6 separate regions of the Homo sapiens genome follow, and all the other regions are linked to region 1. The links are contacts of gene promoters, found by promoter capture Hi-C in blood cells and fetal thymus (Javierre and others, 2016). All regions are on one chromosome and are shown on one strand. The core of a region is centred on a gene start or on the middle of the fragment in contact, and the rest is flanking DNA. Distances in the headings are between cores, read along the strand shown. Region 1 holds the start of PTAR1 (protein prenyltransferase alpha subunit repeat containing 1). Region 2 overlaps PIP5K1B (phosphatidylinositol-4-phosphate 5-kinase type 1 beta). Region 3 overlaps PIP5K1B (phosphatidylinositol-4-phosphate 5-kinase type 1 beta). Region 4 overlaps FXN (frataxin). Region 5 overlaps KLF9-DT (KLF9 divergent transcript). Region 6 overlaps KLF9 (KLF transcription factor 9).

What was found. Contacts are between HindIII fragments. The CHiCAGO score rates a contact against its expected background, and 5 or more counts as called.
Region 2: a contact is called between a fragment that was not itself captured here and the fragment with the promoter of PTAR1 in region 1, in 1 of 17 cell types (total CD8 T cells). The highest score is 6.4, in total CD8 T cells.
Region 3: a fragment that was not itself captured here is called in contact with the fragment with the promoter of PTAR1 in region 1 in 2 of 17 cell types (total CD8 T cells and fetal thymus); the score reaches 8.3 in total CD8 T cells.
Region 4: a fragment that was not itself captured here is called in contact with the fragment with the promoter of PTAR1 in region 1 in 3 of 17 cell types (total CD8 T cells, naive CD8 T cells and non-activated CD4 T cells); the score reaches 6.4 in total CD8 T cells.
Region 5: a contact is called between a fragment that was not itself captured here and the fragment with the promoter of PTAR1 in region 1, in 2 of 17 cell types (total CD8 T cells and total B cells). The highest score is 5.6, in total CD8 T cells.
Region 6: a fragment that was not itself captured here is called in contact with the fragment with the promoter of PTAR1 in region 1 in 1 of 17 cell types (naive CD8 T cells); the score reaches 5.5 in naive CD8 T cells.

Annotation. Positions count from the first base shown.
Region 1 is chr9:69,758,124-69,761,613 of GRCh38, forward strand. It overlaps PTAR1 (protein prenyltransferase alpha subunit repeat containing 1), which reads right to left and starts at 1,888. Exons shown (of 8, transcript NM_001099666.2): 1 at 1,730-1,888. The coding sequence starts at 1,815. LOC105376076 (a long non-coding RNA gene) reads left to right here and starts at 1,972. Exons shown (of 4, transcript XR_929910.3): 1 at 1,972-2,350. RefSeq lists enhancers at 1,386-1,435, 2,910-3,490 and a silencer at 1,576-2,045. The HindIII fragment of the contact is 9,606 bases long and covers 1,150-3,490 here.
Region 2 is chr9:68,766,695-68,770,184 of GRCh38, forward strand. All of the region lies in intron 2 of PIP5K1B (phosphatidylinositol-4-phosphate 5-kinase type 1 beta), which reads left to right. Among named protein-coding and RNA genes, the nearest start is that of PABIR1, 12 kb to the right of the region's middle. The HindIII fragment of the contact is 1,030 bases long and covers 988-2,017 here.
Region 3 is chr9:68,782,858-68,786,347 of GRCh38, forward strand. The region is part of intron 2 of PIP5K1B (phosphatidylinositol-4-phosphate 5-kinase type 1 beta); the gene reads left to right. PABIR1 (PP2A Aalpha (PPP2R1A) and B55A (PPP2R2A) interacting phosphatase regulator 1) reads left to right here. Exons shown (of 1, transcript NM_138333.5): 1 at 1-2,709. Among named protein-coding and RNA genes, the nearest start is that of PABIR1, 4.5 kb to the left of the region's middle. The HindIII fragment of the contact is 905 bases long and covers 1,231-2,135 here.
Region 4 is chr9:69,041,079-69,044,568 of GRCh38, forward strand. All of the region lies in intron 1 of FXN (frataxin), which reads left to right. Among named protein-coding and RNA genes, the nearest start is that of FXN, 7.1 kb to the left of the region's middle. The HindIII fragment of the contact is 1,079 bases long and covers 1,210-2,288 here.
Region 5 is chr9:70,418,383-70,421,872 of GRCh38, forward strand. The region is part of intron 1 of KLF9-DT (KLF9 divergent transcript); the gene reads left to right. Among named protein-coding and RNA genes, the nearest start is that of KLF9, 5.5 kb to the left of the region's middle. RefSeq lists an enhancer at 423-1,144 and silencers at 582-891, 992-1,041, 1,972-2,061. The HindIII fragment of the contact is 2,727 bases long and covers 385-3,111 here.
Region 6 is chr9:70,391,818-70,395,307 of GRCh38, forward strand. The region is part of intron 1 of KLF9 (KLF transcription factor 9); the gene reads right to left. It overlaps LOC124900273 (a long non-coding RNA gene), which reads right to left. Exons shown (of 2, transcript XR_007061576.1): 2 at 1,240-3,490. Among named protein-coding and RNA genes, the nearest start is that of KLF9-DT, 21 kb to the right of the region's middle. The HindIII fragment of the contact is 205 bases long and covers 1,599-1,803 here.

The sequences.
Region 1 (3,490 bases), core at 638-3,137:
AAGTCCTTTAAGAGTTTCCATAAATGTGATCCACAAGAACTGGGACATGTTCCAAACTGCACTGTGTTAAAAACTGCCAAGCCAATGAACATTCAATCTTGGTTTCTTCAAATATAATGATGCTCTTTTAGTCTACCTCAAAGAAGAGAACATAAGATGATTACGACATTTTGTATTAGATTTCTAATCTCTGCTGTAATTTCTTCTAGAAAAATACCAGTGATGAGAAAATACACTCTTCATTTGTCCAACTTTTTTTTTTTTTGAGGTCGTCTCTTACTTGCACTAAGGCTCCCATTCTCAAAAAGAAATCGAAAGACTGATATACAGCAAGGCATCAAAGCATTCTTTAGAAGGCTCAGCAACCACTATGGATACTGCCAGGAAATCATTCCAAACACTCTCATTTTGAAAAAGGCAGCAGTCATAAGGGGGAGGGAAGTGGATGCTGTCAGAGGTGGCAGGTGTGTTTTGAGGCCAGCAGTGTTTTGTTTTTAATGTGGCACAGTTGCACGTCTCCAATTGTGTGCCACAAGGGAGCAAAACATCCAACGGCTTCTTAACTGTTTTACAATCATCACCTTGGAGGAAAAGAACACTTTGGTAAGATACACGTTTGGCAACTTTTTTAGGCAGAAAAGCTGAACCGGTTAGAATACTTAAAAAAAAAAATCATGAGCTCCAGTCTAAAGAATAAAATAAAAATAAATTAAATAATAATAAAAAATAATAAACTAAAAAAAAAAAAAATAAACTCCAAAAACAACTAGCTAAAATGAAAGTAATGCAGAACTGGATGCCATGTTTCTTTTCTTTGAGGAGGAAGAGGTATGGGAAAGGAGGTACATTGTTGCTTCTTCCCTACACCTTTGTATAATGTAGATCTCTCTCTCTCTCTCAATAGCTTTCTTTTCACTTGTTACATAAAAGCAAAGTGTTACAAAAAGTAGACTCTTGCGGTATCTTCCCACAGTACTTCAAGTAAAATGGAAGAGATACATATGTCAGTTCTGCAGTGTCCCGTTAAAGAGGGCAGCAGTGTTGGGATAAAAATGAGTTAACATGCTCCTTGTAACTATGAATCCGCTTATGCTAAAAAGTATCAAGGTTTCATTTGCTTTATCCCAGACTCCACACTGCGCCCACAGAAGCTTCTCTTGAGAATGTTCTGTTCACCTTTCAAAACACAATGTATTATCGGAGTCACTTTACAATTTTGTGGCAAGTAAGGCTAAAGTCAAAAGCAGCCTCAAACCACCTTTAGTTAGTAAACTGAGGGGTTTGAGGCTCATTAAAAGTAAGAGGATCGGTTACCCCCTCTTGCCAACGTCCGGGATGAATCTCAAGAGTTGTGTTTACAAGGCATACACGGACCCACATCGTTGTGTGCGCCCGAGTACCTTAAACACAGGAAGGATGTCGACCTACGGGGGACGTCTCTGGAGTTTCGTGAACTCCTATGAAAAGGTGGGGAGGGACAGAGAAAGTAGTTCCGTTTTGATTTTTTGAGGTCACTTCTAGGGACTCGACCGCGAGCGCGTCCCGGTAGCGGAAAGCCGGGCCAGCGGCGGCCGACAACGGTCCCGCCCGACACGGCTCTGCCTCCTCCCTAGAAGGGCTCGTGGGCCAGGACCCGCTGTCCGCCCGCCGCCCGAGGTCGGGTGGACGCTTGGCCCCGCCCCCGCCCGCTCCCGACGACCCTCGGAGGCGGCGGAGGCGCGCGACTCACATGTGTGGGTTCCTCCTGAAGGCGTTAGTGATGTCCTTCACAACCCGCTGCACCAGCACCGCCACCTCCTCGCTGGTCTCGGCCATGTTGGCGGCGGCCGCGACAGTTCGGGCGCGCCTCCGCGTGAGCCGGGCCGCCGGCGGGAGTTCCGCGGAGAACGAGCGCGCGCGCGCGCGCGCGGGTGCTTCGGCTAGGCCGCGTCCCCGCCGCCGCGGCCGCCGCCGAGCACTTCCGGGTCAGCCAGTTGGCGGCCTGGGCGTGGCGTTAGCTAGGGTTGGTGGCCTTCCAGTGAGTGGAGAAGTTCGCCTCCGCGCGGGTAACGGACTTTCTAAGCGTCAGAGAAGATGCTGGACATTTGTTTGCAAAGTTCTCTCAGGCCTCCGATTTTCTTATTTTAAGTTTTAGGCGAAACCTCAAGACACACTCCCAGAGAGTCAGACACCTTCCTGAACCCCCCCAGCAAGGTCCCCGGGCATTCCTGAAGGAATGTTCAACTGAGGATGCAGGGCCTCTTAACAGTTAGTCCCGGGCGTTTTTCAGAGCTTGTCTGCTTTATTTTCCCAGCCTGAGAGATGAAGAGGTCCAGAGGCATTGCGGCGGAGCGAGTCCCTATTTGACCGTGTTGGTGACCTCCTTTCTAACTGTGCCAATTTTTGTCTCTGAACTTGAAAGCAGCCTTTTTAAAAAACATTAATTAAAATTCTTAAATTTATTAAAGGAAGAGAAAGGAAAGTGAAGGAAAAGTTATTTGCCATCTGTATGTAGGAAGTAGAAGTGAAATCGTTTTTAGATTTTTCGACTTCATTTTGTACTGCATTTGGTAGCCTTTGCGTCAATTTTGGAATTTAAAAAAAAGGATCAAGGCTCTGACAGGGTTTGTTCATAATAGCAAAAATAAATTTTTGTAGGAAAAACGAGCTTTCTAGTTTATTTAGGATTTTGAAATGCCATAACTAAAATTTTTGTGTATCAGGTTTTCTTTTGCACCTCTGGTAGAAAAATCTGGCTGCCCTTGGTTCAGTTTTATTCTTCCACCCTTGAAATCTGGCCAGGTGCGGTGGCTCACGCCTGTAATCCCAGCACTTTGGGGGGCCAAGGCGGGCGGATCACAAGGTCAGGAGATCGAGACCATCCTGGCTAACACGGTGAAACCCCGTCTCTACTAAAAATACAAAAAAAAAAAAAAAAAAAAAAAAGCCGGGCGTGGTGGCGGGCGCCTGTAATCCCAGCTACTCCCCACTGCACTCCAGCCTGGGCGACAGAGCGAGACTCCGTCTTTAAAAAAAGGCCGGGCGCGGTGGCTCACGCCTGTAATCCCAGCACCTTGGGAGGCCGAGGCGGGTGGATCATGAGGTCAGGAGATCGAGACCATCCTGGCTAACAAGGTGAAACCCCGTCTCTACTAAAAATACAAAAAATTAGCTGGGCGCGGTGGCGGGCGCCTGTAGTCCCAGCTACTCGGGAGGCTGAGGCAGGAGAATGGCGTGAACCCGGGAAGCGGAGCTTGCAGTGAGCCGAGATTGCGCCACTGCAGTCCGCAGTCCGGCCTGGGCGACAGAGCGAGACTCTGTCTCAAAAAAAAAAAAAAAGAAATCTGTATCTTTAAAAAGCTATTAAAAAAATAAACTCATGGTGTGTTTAATGTGAACATATGCGGAGCGTTTGAAGTAGTTTTTATGATTGTAAAAGTAAAAGCTATCTATTGCATGTAAAGTGAATGAGAAATATAAACGAAAAATATAAATTTACTATACTCAGTGG
Region 2 (3,490 bases), core at 253-2,752, 990 kb before region 1:
CTATTTTTTTCTATGTGTCTGTATTTTAAATTTTTTTACAATAAATAAATATCTCTTTATTACCAAAACAAAGGTAAAAAATCAACAATATCAGATATCAAAAAGGAGAAGTAACCAAAAAATATTGTTAGGTACTACATGAAACACTATGGAGATAGGTGAAGTAAGTGGTATTTCTAGGAAAATTTACTTTATTAAAGTGGTCCCAGGAGAGAGTCAGTAACCATGAAAGAAATAAAAATGTTATCAAAAGATGCTTTCTAAATTCAAAGTGCAGGCCCCCAGATAGCCCAAGTAAATTCTTCAAATAGTCAGGGATATTGATATTAAGTAGGGTAACTATATAGTTTATTGAAGGGAGCTTTAATTGAGAGAACCAGTATAAACTAGAATGCCCCATGTAAACCTGACAGATGGTCACATTACTATTTCAACTTTTTCTAAGTATAGAGCAAAAGACAGACTTTCAAGATTTTTTAAGATACCAAAATGATCTTAGTACCAAAACTTCACAAAGATAGCTGGCATGGGCATGTGCCTGTATGTGCACACACTGCAGATCAATCTTGATGCAAAACCCTTTCATAAAATACCATCAGATAGAATTTAGCAATGCAGTCCGGGCGCTGTGGCTCACGCCTGTAATCCCAGCACTTTGGGAGGCCGAGGCGGGTGGATCACTTAAGGTCAGGAGTTCGAGACCAGCCTGACCAACATGGTGAAACCGCGTCTCTACTAAAAATACAAAAATTAGCCAGGTGTGGTGGTGCACACCTGTAATCCCATCTATTCGGGAGGCTGAGGCAGGGGAATCGCTTGAACCTGGGAGGTGGAAGCTGCAGTGAGCCGAGACTGCGCCACTGCACTCCAGCCTGGGTGACAGAGCAAGACTCTGTCTTAAAAAAAAAAAAAAAAAAAAGAAAAAGAAATAATTTAGCAATGCATTAAATAAATACCATGATCAAGTAGGTACATCACAAGAATTTAAGCTTGGCTCAATAATGGAGAAGCTAGTCCACATATTAGATGAAAAAAGAAAAACCTGTATGGTCATCTTAATAGGTGCCAAAAATACTAAAATTCAACATCCACTAGTAGATTAATTTGGGCAGTGGTTACATGACTGTTTAAGTTTGTCAAAACTAACTGAACTATATTCTTTAAAAGGGTGAATTTTATTGCACTAAATTATATGCCACTAAAATGAACTTTTAAAGGAATAAATAAAATTATAAGTTTATAGTAACAAAAAAAACTGACACACATTCCCAAATAAAAAGAAAAAAATTAAAACTTAGTAAAATAAGTAGAATGCATTCCCATTTAAATCAAATATATAAGAATGCTGACTTTCACTGAAATTATAAACTGTACACGGAAAGTACCAGTCAGGAGATAAGGAAATAATAGACATAAATATTGGGGAGGAAGTTGCAAAGTTAACATTATTTGCAGATATTTCAATTGCACAGCTAGAAAGAATCAACTGAAAAATTATTGGAAACAACAAGAGAAATCAGTAAGATGGATGGCTAGTTATAACTATGCCGGTGGGAAGAGAAGTGGGAAGAAAAGGAAAAAGTGGATGTATACATGATTTGAAGTTTCCACCATCATTCATATGTATGTGACACACCCCAGGCCCTACACTAAGTGCTGCAGGACACTTTACCTACAAGACACAGTGGCTGCCCTTTTTCAGAGACCATGTAGCCAGAGACAGAAGTTGGGTATACATAAAAATGACAAAGGACTTTATGGAGCAGTGATCATCAAGGGGCAGAAGAGGAATTCACAGTCCTGGGGAAGGAAGGCATAGACTGTAAAGTAAGGAGAGAGAAGAATGGGTTGTCAGAGGTCACAGCTTGTCCTCAGAGCCTAAGACAGCCTTTAGAACCTTTTGATTAGGTCTACCCTATGTTTAACTTTTAAATTTGTTTTTTAGTTCAACATCTACAAATTGTAAGCATCCACATTTTTAAAAATCTAGATTTTTAACCTCTATTAAAAAATTAGAAGCTTGGGCAATGTATGGCATCCTTTTCTGCAAGGGCAGCTGTTGGGTGGAATTGAGCAGTAGCTGTCAGCCACCTTTAGGTGCCTGGGTCTCTCCAGTCTGTTAAGTGCAAATGCTCTATTCTCTCAGTACTGTCACCCATTAGTTATCTATCTGTTGTTGGCCCTTGGAGGCATTTCAATAGAAACCCCTGGTGCTAATAATAAAGTAAAGATACTGGGCAAACCTTCTCCACTCTTGGTCATACAACAGTACTTTTAAAAATTAGCTAGTCGTAGTCGCCCTGTTGGGAAAAGCCACGGAAGCATTTGAACAAATGATGAAGTGTTTGCCTCAGTAAATGTACAACTTGTTTATTCCCAGTAATGCATCCCTATTTCCCCGTATTATTTTTTAAATTGAAAAATTATTTTAAAAATTGAAAAAGAAGATTGAGAGGCTATCTTTGTGGGGAACTGGCCATTGTCTACATCTTCCTCAATGCATTCTTTCTTTTGAATTCTGAGGCATGTGCAGAATGCTTTTTAGCCCAGGGAAATCTTTCTGTTCTGTGACACATCATTAAGATTAATTGAGCCTTTCAATTTTACATTTTCCAAGAGCAAATTAAGTAGGAAAAATGGGACAGGTTTTCACTGTCACTTATACTGTGTTTTTTTTTCTAGCTTATATTCTACATCTGATGGTCAGATCTGTTAGGTATTCGAAAAGCAGTAGCATTAATTGCATTTTCCCTTCCTTTTTGCTGAAGGGCAGATGTTTTTATGTTGTTAATGGTGGGTTGGGTTAAACATAAGCAGCACACTGAAAGTATAACTAGCTATTATTTATGAGAAAAGAACAATGTAATTCCCCAGATTTGGCTAATCTAAAACTAAGGTTTATTTTATAGACTTTAAATAAATAAATATTTATAACCTATAATTTTGCCCTTAGTTCTATGCCCTCAATACACTCTAGGCTTTTGGTCCCATTTGTCTTTCCTTTTTTGTATCATCGGTATTTTTCTTACCTCTAGTTATTTCTGGGGAAAGAATGAATGTTTAAGGAAATTCTGTCCTCAAGAACACTTCCGTGGCCTGTCAAGGTGGCATGACATTGCTTGCTTTCCTCTCGTTCTTCATGAAAATGCCTAGCAGGGTACCTGGCACCCAGTTGGAACTTGAAAAATACTTTTTCAATTTGAATTAGCCAAATTCTGGAAAACGTAGCCTATCTCACTGCCTCCAGTTTCTTACCACCTGCCTACGGTGTGGCTCCTCTCATCTGGGTTTTCCACGCCTTCTCTCCTAGGCCTCTACTAGAGCTCTCTCCAGATCACCAGTTCCTGCCCTGAAAAATCAACAGTCCTTATTTCTTCAGCATTTCTCACAAGTGACCTCTGTCCTTCTTTATGCAACAAGCAGCACTCATGGAATAGAAAGGTCTTCGCTGGCTTCTGAATGAAAATTCAAGAACCTTTCTTTCTGCTCA
Region 3 (3,490 bases), core at 433-2,932, 980 kb before region 1:
ATTAGCTCAATTGATGTCATCACTGATTTCCTAAACTAGAAACTATGGAAGCATCTTTGACTTTTCCTTTTCTCTGTTGGATTAGCTTAATCACCAAGTCCTGTCAACTTCTGAAATGAATCTCAAATTTCTTCCCTTCTCTATCTGTTGCCCCTGATTTTGCCTTAAGTTCTTGCCTGAGTGATCTCCCAGCCTGTCTTCTGTCTCCTTTTGGTTCAGTCTTTATACTGCCTCTTGAGTAATCTTTCTGAAATTTAAACTTGATATTTTTCGCCCTCTTGCTTGAAAACTTCACTTGCTTCCCCATTTCCTACTCTTTAAGGAATGATTTCTTTAGCCTCAGATAGAAGGACCTTTATGATCTGGCCATATTCTGAAATAGCTTCAATCCTCTCCTCATCTCTGTTCCAGTATACATCTTTCCTTCTTATTCTGCAAACATTAGACCACTTGATATTCTTTAAATATGTCATGTACTTTTCTTGTGTCTGTTCTTTGGGATAATTCCTATCCTTTTCAGGGAGGCAAATTGCACGTGAGTTTAAGTATGAAGGCAATGTATACCTGCTGATTGTAAAATATTTAAACATTGTACATATCTGTGTGGTTTTAAAAGTCTGCTTTTAATTATGTAAAATTCATCTTCCCTTTCCACAGATAACTTCTGTTAACAACTTGATATCTATTGTACAAGATGTGTTACTGGCATTTCCATGTATATATGTATATAAATGCAGGAAACCAACATGTCATTGACACCTCTCTTCTTTACTTTTCCCCATATCTAATCATTCCTCAAGTCTTACTGATTTTTATCAGCTAGAATCTATCTCCTTATTTCTACCTCTATTGCCACTCTGATCCAGGCTACCAGCATTTCCCTCTTAGGCTTCTGAAGCAACTTCCTAACTCCCACTTGTGCTCCTCACACTCACTCTGGTCGGCTATCCATTCATTCTCCATACAGCAACTAGAGTCATTCTTTTAAAATTGCGGACCTGATCCTTCCATCTCCCAGCTGAACGCTTTTCATTTGCTTCCTGTTCTCATGAGTATGCCAAAATGTATTAATTCTGGGCTAGGAGGCCCTGAGGAATTTGGTCCTTCCCTCCTCCCCCCTCGTTTTCTGTGCTTCGCCCTCACTGGCTTGCCTTTCTTTTCCTTAAATACATCATGTTCTCTCCTATTTTAGATCCTTTTCCCCGAAGGTATGGAAACATTATTTCTGTAAGCTTATTCTTCTATATAGATGGGAAGTTTTTAAATCAGATAAGGTTCTAAGGGCATGTGGACAATTTACGTTATCATAGTATTGTTCATAACGTCCATCATTATTCTGTAGACTGTAAGGGCTTACTTAGCTCGTGTAAGAATTATCCTTCAAAAAGCATTTTTAAGGTATTAGTATTGCTAATCTATAAACTTTGTGCAAGAAGTCCTAAAGTCAATAGCAACATTTATTTAAAGTACAGTTTGTCATACTTAATAAACCTCTGGTATATTTTCCTTTATTATGCTTGTTAAAAACACAGTATAAATGGGAGAAATCATTAAAGATCATTAACTCCAAGGCTGCTGGATGTTAGGACCCTTAAGCATACTTAAAAGATTGATTGTAATCAAGAATAACTTGTATCAGATTGCCTTCCAGTGATTCACATTTATTAGTTCAACCAGTTACATACCTGTAGCAAGAGACCAGTTTATTTGGCAATAAAATTGGGGAAGGAATCAAGACTTAAATGAGGAAAGTGAGTCTGAGAACATTTTTTTTCAGGGTGTGTTTATAGATTAGTAGAACAATTTTGAAGATCTAACAGAGGTGGGAGTCAGGGGAATGGTTGCCAGACAATTGAACCAAGAAGATGATGATCATTTCTTGAGTAGCACCAGAGAACAGAAGAAAGAGTTGGCCTTGGAAAGGAGGTCTGGAAACTTATTTTTCTTCTGAAACAGGAGGGAGAGTGAAAAGGCTAGGCAAAGATATCCATAAATGTTGAATTGATTTGTTGTTGCAGGGGTTTAGGAGTATGGAGGTAGGTATATGAAAAGTAGAATTTGTTTCTGATTGTGCCTATTTTCCAATTATTGAGGAATCTAAGATACATGAGGATAGGGACAGGAGATCATTTGGAAGCTTGAGTGCAGTAAAGGTTTAATGTTGCCTCTGAGAATCTAAAGGAGTAAGTTAAGGACAAGTAGAAGGCTTATTAGGCTATGATGGATGCCAGGTTGCAGTTGGATGGCAGGCACAAGGAAGTGGGTTGGATTGACTAGGTTTGGGAATTGGTTAAGTGGGTACTAGGTAAAGCCCAGTGTGTGAAGTAGTTAAGGGTTCTGCTGAAAGTGTAGTTTGAATGATTGGCTGAGGCATTGAGGATAAGAGAAGGGAGCAGAGGCTTATGGACTAGACCACTTTTTTCAGGGCTTTACCTTATCAGCCATGACAAAGTATAGAGAATCTGGTCTCAATGTAGGTCTCTCACTCCAGCAGTTTTGCCCACATTTTTCATGGCTGTTAGAGAATCAGGGCTGAAGGCAAGCCTTGAGTGCCACTTACTTGGTAAAAAATTGTGTCAGATTGCTCACTGTAGCCAAGACAGAGTTCTTTGTGGCTTCTGTAACTTGCCATCCAAGTAAAAAAATTTTCTTAAAAGTTGAAATGACCTTTGTATAAAAAGTAATAAAATACTTGCTATGTGTCAGGGACTGTTCTAAGTGCTAAGCAAATATATCAATGCATTTAATCTATCACTATCATCTGAGGCAAGTGCTATCATTATCCTCATTTTATAAATGAGGAAATGGAGACACAGGTTGAGTTACTTGCCCAGGATTCCAGAGCTGGGAGGTAGGCAGCGAATTGTGGTGGTTAGGAATATAGACAGTGGAGCAGGGTGGCTGTGGTGAGGATTGAATGGGTTCGTACACAATGTGCTTACAAAGATGCTGGGCAATTAGCATCCTTGATGGATGAAACTCCTGCTTTCACACTCAGTTAACAGTACAATATCCTTCAAAGCAGGCTATCCTTTTATGAAGCGATTGTTTCTGATGTTAGCCTTTCTTATAGTGAACAGACATTTCCCTCTAACTTCCACCATTCAATTCAAGTCCACCTTTGGCAAATGCAAAACAAGCCTTATTCTTCTTTTTATAGGTGATAGCCCCCTTCTAGAAATCAGAAATACTGATCCTTCTCTAATGACTACTTCTTCCTTCCAGATTTTAGAAATCTTGAGCTGTGTCTTCAGTATGCTGTCTGTGAAATAAGGCTATCATTGCGTGGCAGCCAAGATTTTCACCAGATTGTGATTCCCTTATGACCATTTGCCTTCCTGGGTAGGAAGTGATAAATGGCCTGATAACGTGAGTTTTTGCCAGTAATAATAATAATGATGTGTTAATATTTCTTGAGCATTCACTATGGGTCCAGACACTATTTTTAGTGCTTTACATTTATGAGTGTTTAAAATCCTCATGACAACCC
Region 4 (3,490 bases), core at 499-2,998, 720 kb before region 1:
CCAGGTTAAGAGATAGAATTTGTTTGTTCCTCTGGAGGCCCTTGTCTTCACCCCATCACTGCCCTGTCCTCCCTGGAGGAATCTGCCAGCCCGAATTCTGTTCATCGTACCCTCCTTTTCTTAGAGTTTGACCTCCTCTGTATCTCCCCCAATCCATGTATTGCTTATATACAAGGTATTCTGCTGTATCTGTTCTGCTATGGCTTGCCCCTTTTGTTCAACACTGTTTTTGTGCGTCATCTGCATTGATGCATGCAGTTGTCCTTTATTTGTTCTCACTGCTGGATAGTATCTGGTTGGGTAAATATATCACACTGTAAATCACACTATCCAGGTTCCTTTAGGTGACATTTGGTTGATTGCAGTGTTCTGTTGTTACGATGGTGCTGCTGTGACTGTTCTTGTGCATGGACAGAAGTTCCTTTCAGGTGAATTTCTCAGAATGGAATTGCTGGGCAAAGGGGCAGCCAATAATCAACTCATTTGATGCCAAAAGTGGTGGTGCCAGTTCATCCTCCCCTGCGAGGTATGGGTCCTGATTCACTCTTCAAGTGCTGTGGTTTGACAGGGCCGGGGGTGACAAGGGGACACCTGGGAAGGAAAGCTGGGCTCCCTGCTGGCCATCCAGGCCAGTCCTTACCAGGGGGTAGGCAATGATTGGGTCAAGTGGTTCCTGACCACTGGGCCTGAGACTTCAGGCCCAGAAACTATCTAATATTTCCTCAAATGCATCCCATGAGCAGGCACTGTGTGAGTGAGCACACACATCTGAAGCCTCAAGCTAGGCAAGCCTACCATGACTTGTGGTCCAAGGGCTCACGGGTGACCTGGAGTTAGAGGGAGACATGGCTGCCAGGTGGCTTTAGAAAGAACACTCATCATGGCCAGGTGCGGTGGCTTACGCCTGTAATCCCAGCACTTTGGGAGGCCAAGGTGGGTGGATCATGAGGTCAGGAGTGAGACCAGCCTGACCAACATGCTGAAACCTGTCTCTCCTAAAAACACAAAAATTAGCTGGGCATGGAGGTGCACGCCTGTAATCCCAGCTACTCAGGAGGCTGAGGCAGGAGAATCACTTGAACCCGGGAGGCGGAGGTTGCAATAAGCCTAGATTGTGCCACTGCATTCCAGCCTGGGCAACAGAGCAAGACTCCGTCTCAGAAAAAAAAAAAAAAAGGAAGAACACTCATCCTATGACCTTGACCTCCAAGCTTTGCCTCCCTCAAGCAGAACAGAATGGAGCCTCCCTTAGGCAGAGGCGGAAGTTTGCCTCTCACCTAGTTCTCCATTCTTTTGTTCAGAGCCTGAATACCCTCAGGCTCTGTACTTGGGGTATTTCTGTTCTCTTGTTTTATGCTCACGGTTGTGAGGTTTGTTGTGAGTACCACGATCCCTTCCTTCAGAGGAGTAAACTGAGGTTCCAAAAGGTTTAGCAGTTGCCCGAGGAATATTAAATTGGCAAAAGCAGGTAGAATATAAAGCAAGGAGTATTTGGCAACGGTTCTTTTTTATGATTAAAAACAGCCGAAGAAAGACTTCTACTTGTGCCTTTGAAGGAGTAACTGCATTTGACCTTCCCACCAGTAACAACCATCAAATCTCTATTAAATTAAACACACACACACACAAACAAAAACAGCTATTGTGAAGGTATCAGCGACTAAGACAACTAAGGTTTGAGGGGCCAGGATCCTGGAGAGATGGAAACTTCCCTGAGGTGAGCCCCACATTCTCAGACACTTTTCCTTGGATGTTTTGAGCACTGCTTTAATTCCTGGGAAAACAATTCCTTCCACTGTGCACAGACTCTGGGGCCAGACAGCTTGGGTTCAATCCCAGCTCTGCCACTTAATGTCTGTGTATCTGTGTAGGCAAGTTACCCTTTGGTGCGTCAGTTTCCTCATCTGTAAAACACAACTATAGTTGATCCTCATTCGTTAAGAGTCTGTACTTGTTAATTTGCTCACTTGCTAAAATTTGTTACCCCAAAATCAGTACCCCTAGCCTTTTGGGGTCGTTTCAAAGATGTGTGCAGAGCGGCAAAAAAATGTGAGCTCCTCCAGGCTCATGTTCCCAGCCAAGGTCCAACAAAGTGCTGCCCTGCCTTCTTATTTCAGCTGTCATAGTGTAAACTGTGTCCTTTTCACAGTCTGATTAGTGCCATGTTTTTCAGATTTTTATGCTTTTTTCTTGGTTATTTCTCTGTTAAAATTGTCTCCAAGTGTAGTGCAAAGTTTAGCACGAGGAGGCTGTGATGTTCCTTACAGAGAAAATGCATGTGTTAGAGAAGCTTTGTCAGGCATGAGTTAAGGTGCTGTTGTCCTGAGATCAATTAATTTGTTGTTGTTGTTGTTTGAGACAGGGTCTCCCTCTGTTGCCCAGGCTGCTGGAGTGCAATGGTGTAATCATAGCTCACTGCAGCCTCTACCTCTCTGGCTCAAGCAATCCTCCCACCTCGGCCTCCTGAGTAGCTGGGACTACAGGTACACCCCACCACACCCAGATAATGTTTTTGATATTTTTTTAGGTGGAATTTTGCTCATCACCCAGGCTGGAGTGCAATGGTGCGATCCTGGCTCACTGCAACCTCCACCTCCCGGATTCAAGCAATTCTTCTGCCTCAGCCTCCTGAGTAGCACAGATTACAGGCACATGTCATCACGCCTTGCTAATTTTTGTGTTTTTAGTAGAGGCGGGGTTTCACCATGTTGGCCAGGCTAGTCTTGAACTCCTGACCTCAGGTGATCCACCCGCCTCCGCCTCCCAAACTGCAGAGATTATAGGCACGAACCACAATGCCCGGCCTCATGTTTTTTATTTTTCAAGTTGAAATGAGGTCTCTCTATGTTGCCCAGGTTGGTCTCAAACTCTTGAGCTCAAGTAATCCTCCCACCTTGGCCTCCCAAAGTGCGGGGATTACAGGTGTGAGCTACCATGCCCAGCCAAGATCAGTGTTAATGAATCAACTATATATATTACATAAGGTGTCTTTAAACAGAAATAAGGTTATATATTGATCGATTGGTAACAATGTTGTGACCAGCAGCTTACAGGGTACCTAGCCTTGTATTTCTCCTATAAATAATTTGCTCGTTGAGTGTTTGTGGCAACTTTGTAGCACATAACTACCAAGAATAAGGACTGTAATAAGAGTACGTCCCTCACAGGATTGTAATGAAGACTGAGTCCATTTACATAAAGGCTGAGAGCAGTGTCAAGCAGATGGAGAACACTGTAGAATGTGCGATAGCTCTAACAGTGGTTATCATGGCTGCCCTCTCACTTCTTCAGAGACATGTGTTTCTAAGGTCTGCACTCTGCCCCACCCTCCCCATCCACTGTCCCCCAGCCCGTTTCCTCCTCCACTTACTTCCCAGCCCTGTGCCTTCTGCCTTCTCTTTTCTGAGTTTGCTAAGGGCACTGCTGGCTCAAGAGCAGTAACTAACAGTCTCTCGCCTCTTCTCTCCATGGCAACCAGTGACCTTTGGAG
Region 5 (3,490 bases), core at 498-2,997, 660 kb after region 1:
AATACAGATTGCCGGGTGTCACCCCTGCTCAAGGACCAGGGAAGTTCAGGCTAAAATCACACTCTGTAGGTATTGGGTTCTGCCAGTTCTGGCTTTTCTCACTCTTTCCTGCTGGGAGGGGTGGACCGTGCCGGGCAGAACTGCCAGCCTCCAGGCGGGAAGGAAGGAGGAGAACAGATGGCCCACTGGGGGTAGAGGATCACGTGTTGGACCTCATTCTGGGCTGCATCCAGACCTCTCCCTTTCAGGGCCCAGCCCCTCCAGCTCCAGCGACCCCACCTAGGCACACGGAACATATGTGGAGGAAACCAGTGTTCATTTTGTTGAAAGCAGGGGAATTAGAGAAGGAGGCGAGCTTGAGGAGGGGAGAGGCTAAAGGGATAAAGCTTCCAACAATGGCGATGTTCCTGGATTTTGAAATACAATCAGGTAAAGCCCGATCTGGTGGAACGCCCGTGGCCATAATGACAGCTAACACCCAGGGGCTGGAGGGGGAAGGGCGCTCAGGCAAGCGCGAAAACTTGCACGCCGCCCTACTTTGCTCCCGCCCCACTTAGCAGCCTTCCGCAAAACTCCAGCCCTCTCCTCTGCAGCGCAGAAAGGCCGCCCGTTCATGCATATGCAGGAGGATAAGTTTAGCTCGCAGCCCCCCGCGCTCCGACCGGCCCAGCGCGGCACTCGGTGAATCACCCGCGCTCGGGGGCGGGCGCTCGGCTCCGGCCGCGGACTGGCGGGCGACTCAGCCACTCGTGGACCGCGCGCCCCGGCCTGGCATCGCCCTTTTAAAAAGTCTTCCGCAGGCGGCCGCCGCCGCAGCAGCCTGAGGAGGCGAGTTCATCTGAGGACAGTCCCAGTTCTCAGAAATCCCTTCCCTGCTGGAACATCAAGCTCCCTTTACTGCAGTTGAACAAACTGCCCTAGATTGGGGGACCAGGAACCCGCCCCAAACTCGTGCAAGGAGCTCCGGGCGCCCACGCCCACGTGAGCTAACCTTGAAATTAGCCCCTGCACCCGGGAGCGCGGGGGTGGGAGTGGGCGGGGACCGGGGGGGAGCCCCGCGCGGCCCAGGCCCTTGCTTTGCGCTCTCCGCGTGCACGTACCGCCCCCGCCACCCTGTTTCATAACTCTGGCGGTGTTGCATTTTTTTTTCTTTTAATCTCCCGGGTAGATGGGTGTGGGGTTCCTGTGTTGGGGAGAGGGCAGGGCACCTTGGCCACCTTCCATCCCCCACGCCCGCGAGGAAGAGGAAAACCTGCCCTGCGGTCCTCCTAGGAACACTGCAGAGTAGGGTGTCGAGATGACATCAGCTTCTAAACATAGCAAGCACCGCACCCCAACTCCATGGGCTGCGGGGGTGGGGAGGGAGTGGGGGAGGCGGGTGCTGCTGTCCCCGGGCGGGGCGTGGCGGGCAGGCCGGCCAGGCTGTGCGGGAGGAGATGACTTTGCAGGAATTGCGCTCCCAGAGTTTGCCGGCAGATCTCTCCCGCGATGGCCCGGCCAAGGGGTTAGGAAACATTCCTGCCATTCCGTGCTCTCCCCTACCCCACAAGAACCACACGCACGCACACACGCACTCTTGGATCGAATGTGCCTTTATTTATAAATCAATCCAGCCCCAGCCCAGGTTCGGTCCGGTCCCGGGAGCACCTGCGCCCCGCGTCTGCCTTCAGGCTAAGCCTGCGAGGGGTTCGGTGTGGCCCTCCCAGTGAGTCAGAATGGGCTGTGTTTCCTGTGGTTGTTGTGGAACAGTTTGTCCTTTTTACTCTCCGCCCCCCCCGCCCCGTCTCCACCCCCTTGGTAAATATAGCGCTCACGTTTCATCATCTCTTTGTCCAACGAGTGCCAGACACCCCGGCCCGCGGCCCCCGCCGCCTCCCTCCTCCTCTCCGCTCGGTTACCTCGCATAACCTCGCGCGGGCAGGCACCGGGCAGCAGCTCTCCCCGCGGCCGCGCCCGCCCGGCACCCAGCGCTTCCCGCCGCAGCACACCCCCAACCCATTCTCCCCTCCCCTTCTTCCAGTTCCCCCTTCTGTACGGCCCCCATGCTCTTGTCCCACCCCCTCTACTCGGCGTCCGGGTACTGGGTCGAGACGTGTGTAGGTGTAGGGAGGTGGATAGCCCTTTTCCGAGCCGTAGGCGTCACCCCTACGCCCAGGCCCAGGCCCAGTGCTGGATCCTGCACTTTCCCAACCTCCCCCTCCCAAGTTCCAAGGTTGCCCTCTGTTCCCCTCCCAAGCGCAGGTGACAAGCTGCTGAGACAGTGTCTGATTCACCGACAGCTGAACCAGCTACTGGTACTTGGAGGTGGGCGTTTGCTGAACTGTTTTCCTCCCACCTCCCCCAACCCCCTACCCCGGTGGGGAGCGGGCTGGAGGGTCGGAAGAGGCAAGGTGGATGACAGCCGAGAAGTGCGTGCCCGCTCTTCCCTCTCTCCCTCCTCCTCCCAGTTTCATTTCCACACATACAGCCACCCACCGGGGACCGGAGGCGGCTAGTGTTCTCTGAACGCCGGGAACTGGCTCTCTCTGTGGTCTCCTGTTTACTTCCCTCCTCCTCTTTTCCCCTCCCTTCTCCCCGCCCCCATCTCCCGGCGCCGCTTCCCGCCCAGAGCAGCTGGGAAACCTGCAGCTGAACACTGCAGTCATGGGACTTCCCTGGCCCCGAGCTGTGCCCCAGGTTTGCCCTGTCCTGTCCTGCCTTGCCCTGTGTCCGCTTTTTGGGGGGCACTTATTTGTCCTGAAAAGGGTCTTAAGGCTCCCTATCCAGGAACGTGGAAGAGGTGACTGCTTCCCTCCCCCTTCCTCTCCTCCTGACTCCCCTGCCAGCTACCTTCCTGTGGGGGCCCTGCCTGGCTGTCTTTTTTGGCCAGGATTCTGGGCCACCCCCACGAGTGGCCACCTGTCCAGGGAGAAGTGGTGAGACAGCTAACGGTGTGTAAGAACTCTGCATCCAGGATGCTGCAGAGCTGGCTTCTTTGCCATCACAGACTGTCCTGTTCGTAACAGGGTGCCCAAAATTCTCTGCCGACCAAGGTTTTCAGGCAGAACCCCAAAACCTGCTCCTAGGGACACACCCTCTCCTTATGGAGTCTGGCAAAACCTTTCCTTTCAAAGCTTGCTTCACAGCGGGGAAGAATGCAGGCTCTCTCCCTAAGTAAGCTGAATGAACAAAGGACTCCAAGGAGGCCGTGGGGGTTCCAGCTCTGGGTGCCGCCTGCCTGAAGTTCACCCCATTTAAAAACCACCTCTTCACCACCACCCTCTGCTCCACTGCCATGGTTACCAGCTCCCTGTCCTTCCCAGCACAATGTTGCACAGAGGCAGAAACAAACAAGGACATTTAAAATGTTCTTTTAAATACCCAAAACACTGCCTTGGTATTTTGGTAGCAGAGAAGAGGGAATAAAAGTCCTGACTGTTTGCTGGTTTCCTTCTGACCCCACGACCCTGAAAAAATCCTTACCCTGGATGGCCTCTCAGCTGCCAAAAGA
Region 6 (3,490 bases), core at 451-2,950, 630 kb after region 1:
GACAGGAGAAAGTTATATGAAATTAAAATTTCCTTGTCTGCATATAGTTTTATTGGAAACAGCCATGCTCATTGGTTTAAGTATTATCTACAGCTGCATTCTCAAAACAGCAGTGTTGAGCAGTTGCCCACAGAGACTGTACAGCCTGCAAAGCTGAAAATATTTACTATCAGGACCTTTTGCAAAAAGTTGGTTGATTCCTGATCTCAATCAAAAGACTTGAAGCTGGGTGTGGCGTTGCACACCTATAATCCCAGCTACTGGGGATGAGGCATGAGAATCGCTTGAACCCGAGGGGCGGAGGTTGTGGTGAGCCAAGATCACGCCACTGCACTCCAGTCTGGGCAACAGAGTGAGACCCTGTCTCAAGTAAATAAACAAATAACAGAGGACTTGAACTTCTAACTGGCCACCAGAATTTGTAAATTCAAATGTCTTCAGGAGCCAGACACAGGTCGGGGACAGGGTGGGAGCAGGTGCATTCAATCATGGATCATAATGGATTCCATGGTGAACTGAACAGGGTGCTTCCCCTACTTAGAGGCATTCAATTTCAACATTATAAATTATGGTGCCACCCAGTGGTGTGTACGCAGGCTGGATTCTGCTTAGGGACCTACAATTTGTAGCCCTTTGAAAAATCTCCCACCTTTTTAATACAGTGGAGAGTTTGGATCTAACATGCCATGATGTTGAATCTAACATCCCAGCATATAAGTTAATGACAGTCATATAATAAGGTATTATTTAGAAAATGATAGATGTTTTGCACTTAAGAAAGCATGGAATGGGGAAGTCACATGTAGACGAGAACAGAATTAAGGCTGAATGGGACCAGAGATGATCTACAGAGGAGGAGAGGACTGGCCTAGAGAGACGGTCACTCCACCTTCGTCTGGCAGCCTGGGGGAAACCAAGTCAGGCCCTCTCTTTGAGGCTCGGTGCTAAGGTCTAAAGGAGAATGGTCAGCCTTCACGCTGAACAAATCACACAGCAATGCAACTATCAATTAGAGAATCTTTAAACCTGTCTTTAGTATTAATGAGAGAGTTACCATCCTCCTGGGGATAGGGAAAAAAATACCCAACACACTTGTACCACTGCATTATTTCTGGCCTTCACAGGAAAACACACCCAGAGGCAGTGACACAATAAACTCCACTTTACTGGAGCAGAGCTGTTAACAGCACAAGTTTCTCTGAGTTCTCATTATTTATATACCACTCCCCGCCCCTTTCAGTAACAAGCTAAGCACCTCTTGCTGACTGACTCAGCTCAGAGTATAAAATAAATGTGATCAAAAAAGCTACTGAACACTGCGCACAATGTGTAAAAGACTTCCTTTGCAGAGACAGTCATCAGGCCTCCAGAATTCTCCTGGGCCTACGGAGGGTGCAAGAACAGTGGACTGGGGCCCCCTGGCTATGTGCTTGCCTACTTAGCACAAAAGGACACTTGCTGCTTTTGAGAGGGAGCCTCCTCGACTGCTGATTAGTTGATGATGCCAAATGAAGCCCATTTTTTTGTGGGCAGTCCTGAAACGAATGGAGGTGAGTTCTCCATAGAGAAGACAGAGACCGGGTACTTGCCAAGTGCCAAGCTTGCTCACTGGACATAGGCAACCCTCCCCAGACTCCCTGAGCTGTCCAGGCTGCCACTGAAGTCCTGCCTGGGGTCAGGGAGGCCTGCCATCTGAATGTCGTCTCTTTCCTACCTGGTTCTTCTCATCTTCCCTGCCCCACCCAAGTCCAGGGATGGGTCTAACTTTAATGGAGACAGGAAAGTCAAAAATACAAAATCAAAAGCTTCCATTGCATCTAGCAAAAGTAAACCAATCTGGTAAAAAACAAATCTAAGGGATTTAGGCCTCCTTTTCAGAACAGAGCTCAAACAGTGCCAATTAAGAATTAAAGTTTCTTGCAGATGTAGAAAATCAAGACTTCTTCTAGAAGAAAAATAATGCTCAGCCGCTCAAGATGGATCACTTGAACACAGAAGTTCAAGACCAGCCTGGGCAATGTGGTGAAACCCCATCTCTACCAAAAATACAACAAATTAGCCAGGCGTAGTGGTGCTTGCCTGTGGTCCCAGATACTTGGGAGGCTGAGGCGGGAAGATTGCTTGAGCCCAAAGGTTGAGGCTGCAGTGAGCTATGATTGTGCCACTGCACTGCAGCCTGGGTGAGAGTGAGACTGAGACCCTGTCTCAAAAAAAAAAAAAAAAAAAAGAGTGGTTTCTGATTGCAAAAACAGCACTAGGATTCCATAGATAAAAGAAGAATTTGGGCTGGCTGTGGTAGCTCACGCCTGTAATCCCAGCACTTTGGGAGGCTGAGATGGGAGGACTGCTTGAGCCCAGGAGATCAAAACCAATCTGGGCAACACAGTAACACCCCAACTCTACAAAAGAAATGTAATTTTAAAAAGGACAATTTGATATTATTAAATCATACTGATATTATTCCCCCATTTAACAGCTCATACACACACACACACACACACATTTAGTATCATTTAATATCATATACACACTCTTATCGTGTACAAAATAGTATATGATAAAATTGAACAACCATCCCTAATAAAAGCTTTCAGGAAAATAAAATAATTCCTCAGCAGTATAAAAGATCAGCTCTGAAACCTTTCCTCTGCAAGGTCAACAGTAAAATAAAGGTAGTATAACTACTAAAGTCTAGCCCAAAGCATAAATGGACACCCGCTCCCATTGCTATAATTTAACATTTTCCAGGAAATACTAATGAGTGCAATTAGATAAAATAAGAAGTAAATGGTGAGAAGAAGGGGGGGTTATAAAATAAGAATTATTTGCAGTTGACACAACTTTCTCTTTGAAAAAATTCAAGATAACTGAAAAATCTAATCTAAATTAAAGGTGCATTCACAGATGTAACTGTACAAAAGAGCACTGGCTTTCTTATATGCCAGCCATAACCAGTCAGAATAAGCCTAACAATAAAAGTTCAGGACCTTGGTGAAGAAATGCATAAAGCCTCAATATAAAAGAAAATGAACAAACAAAATGCTTGCCATGCCTTTGGATGGTAAGGCTCAATGGTGTGAATATGGCAATTCTGTACAAATTCATCTACGGAATTAACACACACCGTAAGAATTTCTTTTTCTAGAACTTGACAAAGTTATTTCTGAAGTTCATTTGGAAGAATAAACATGCCCAACTTGCCAAGAAAATTTTGCGGAAGAACAAATAATAAGTGAGCACTTGCAATACTAGTTATTAAAATGGATTATTAAAGCTGTAATAATTAAGATAGTGAGATAGCAGCACAGGAAAAGACAAATCAGTGGAACAGAGTAGGGTCTGAAAATAACCTTAAGAATCTATAGGGATTCTGTACATGGTAAATGGGGTATTTCAAATCAGTGAAACAGAAAATGTTTAATTCAGTAAGTGGCTTAGATGTCAGGTAAAAGAAAAAAATTAAATCTTAGTCCCTACCTCATACTTTTCA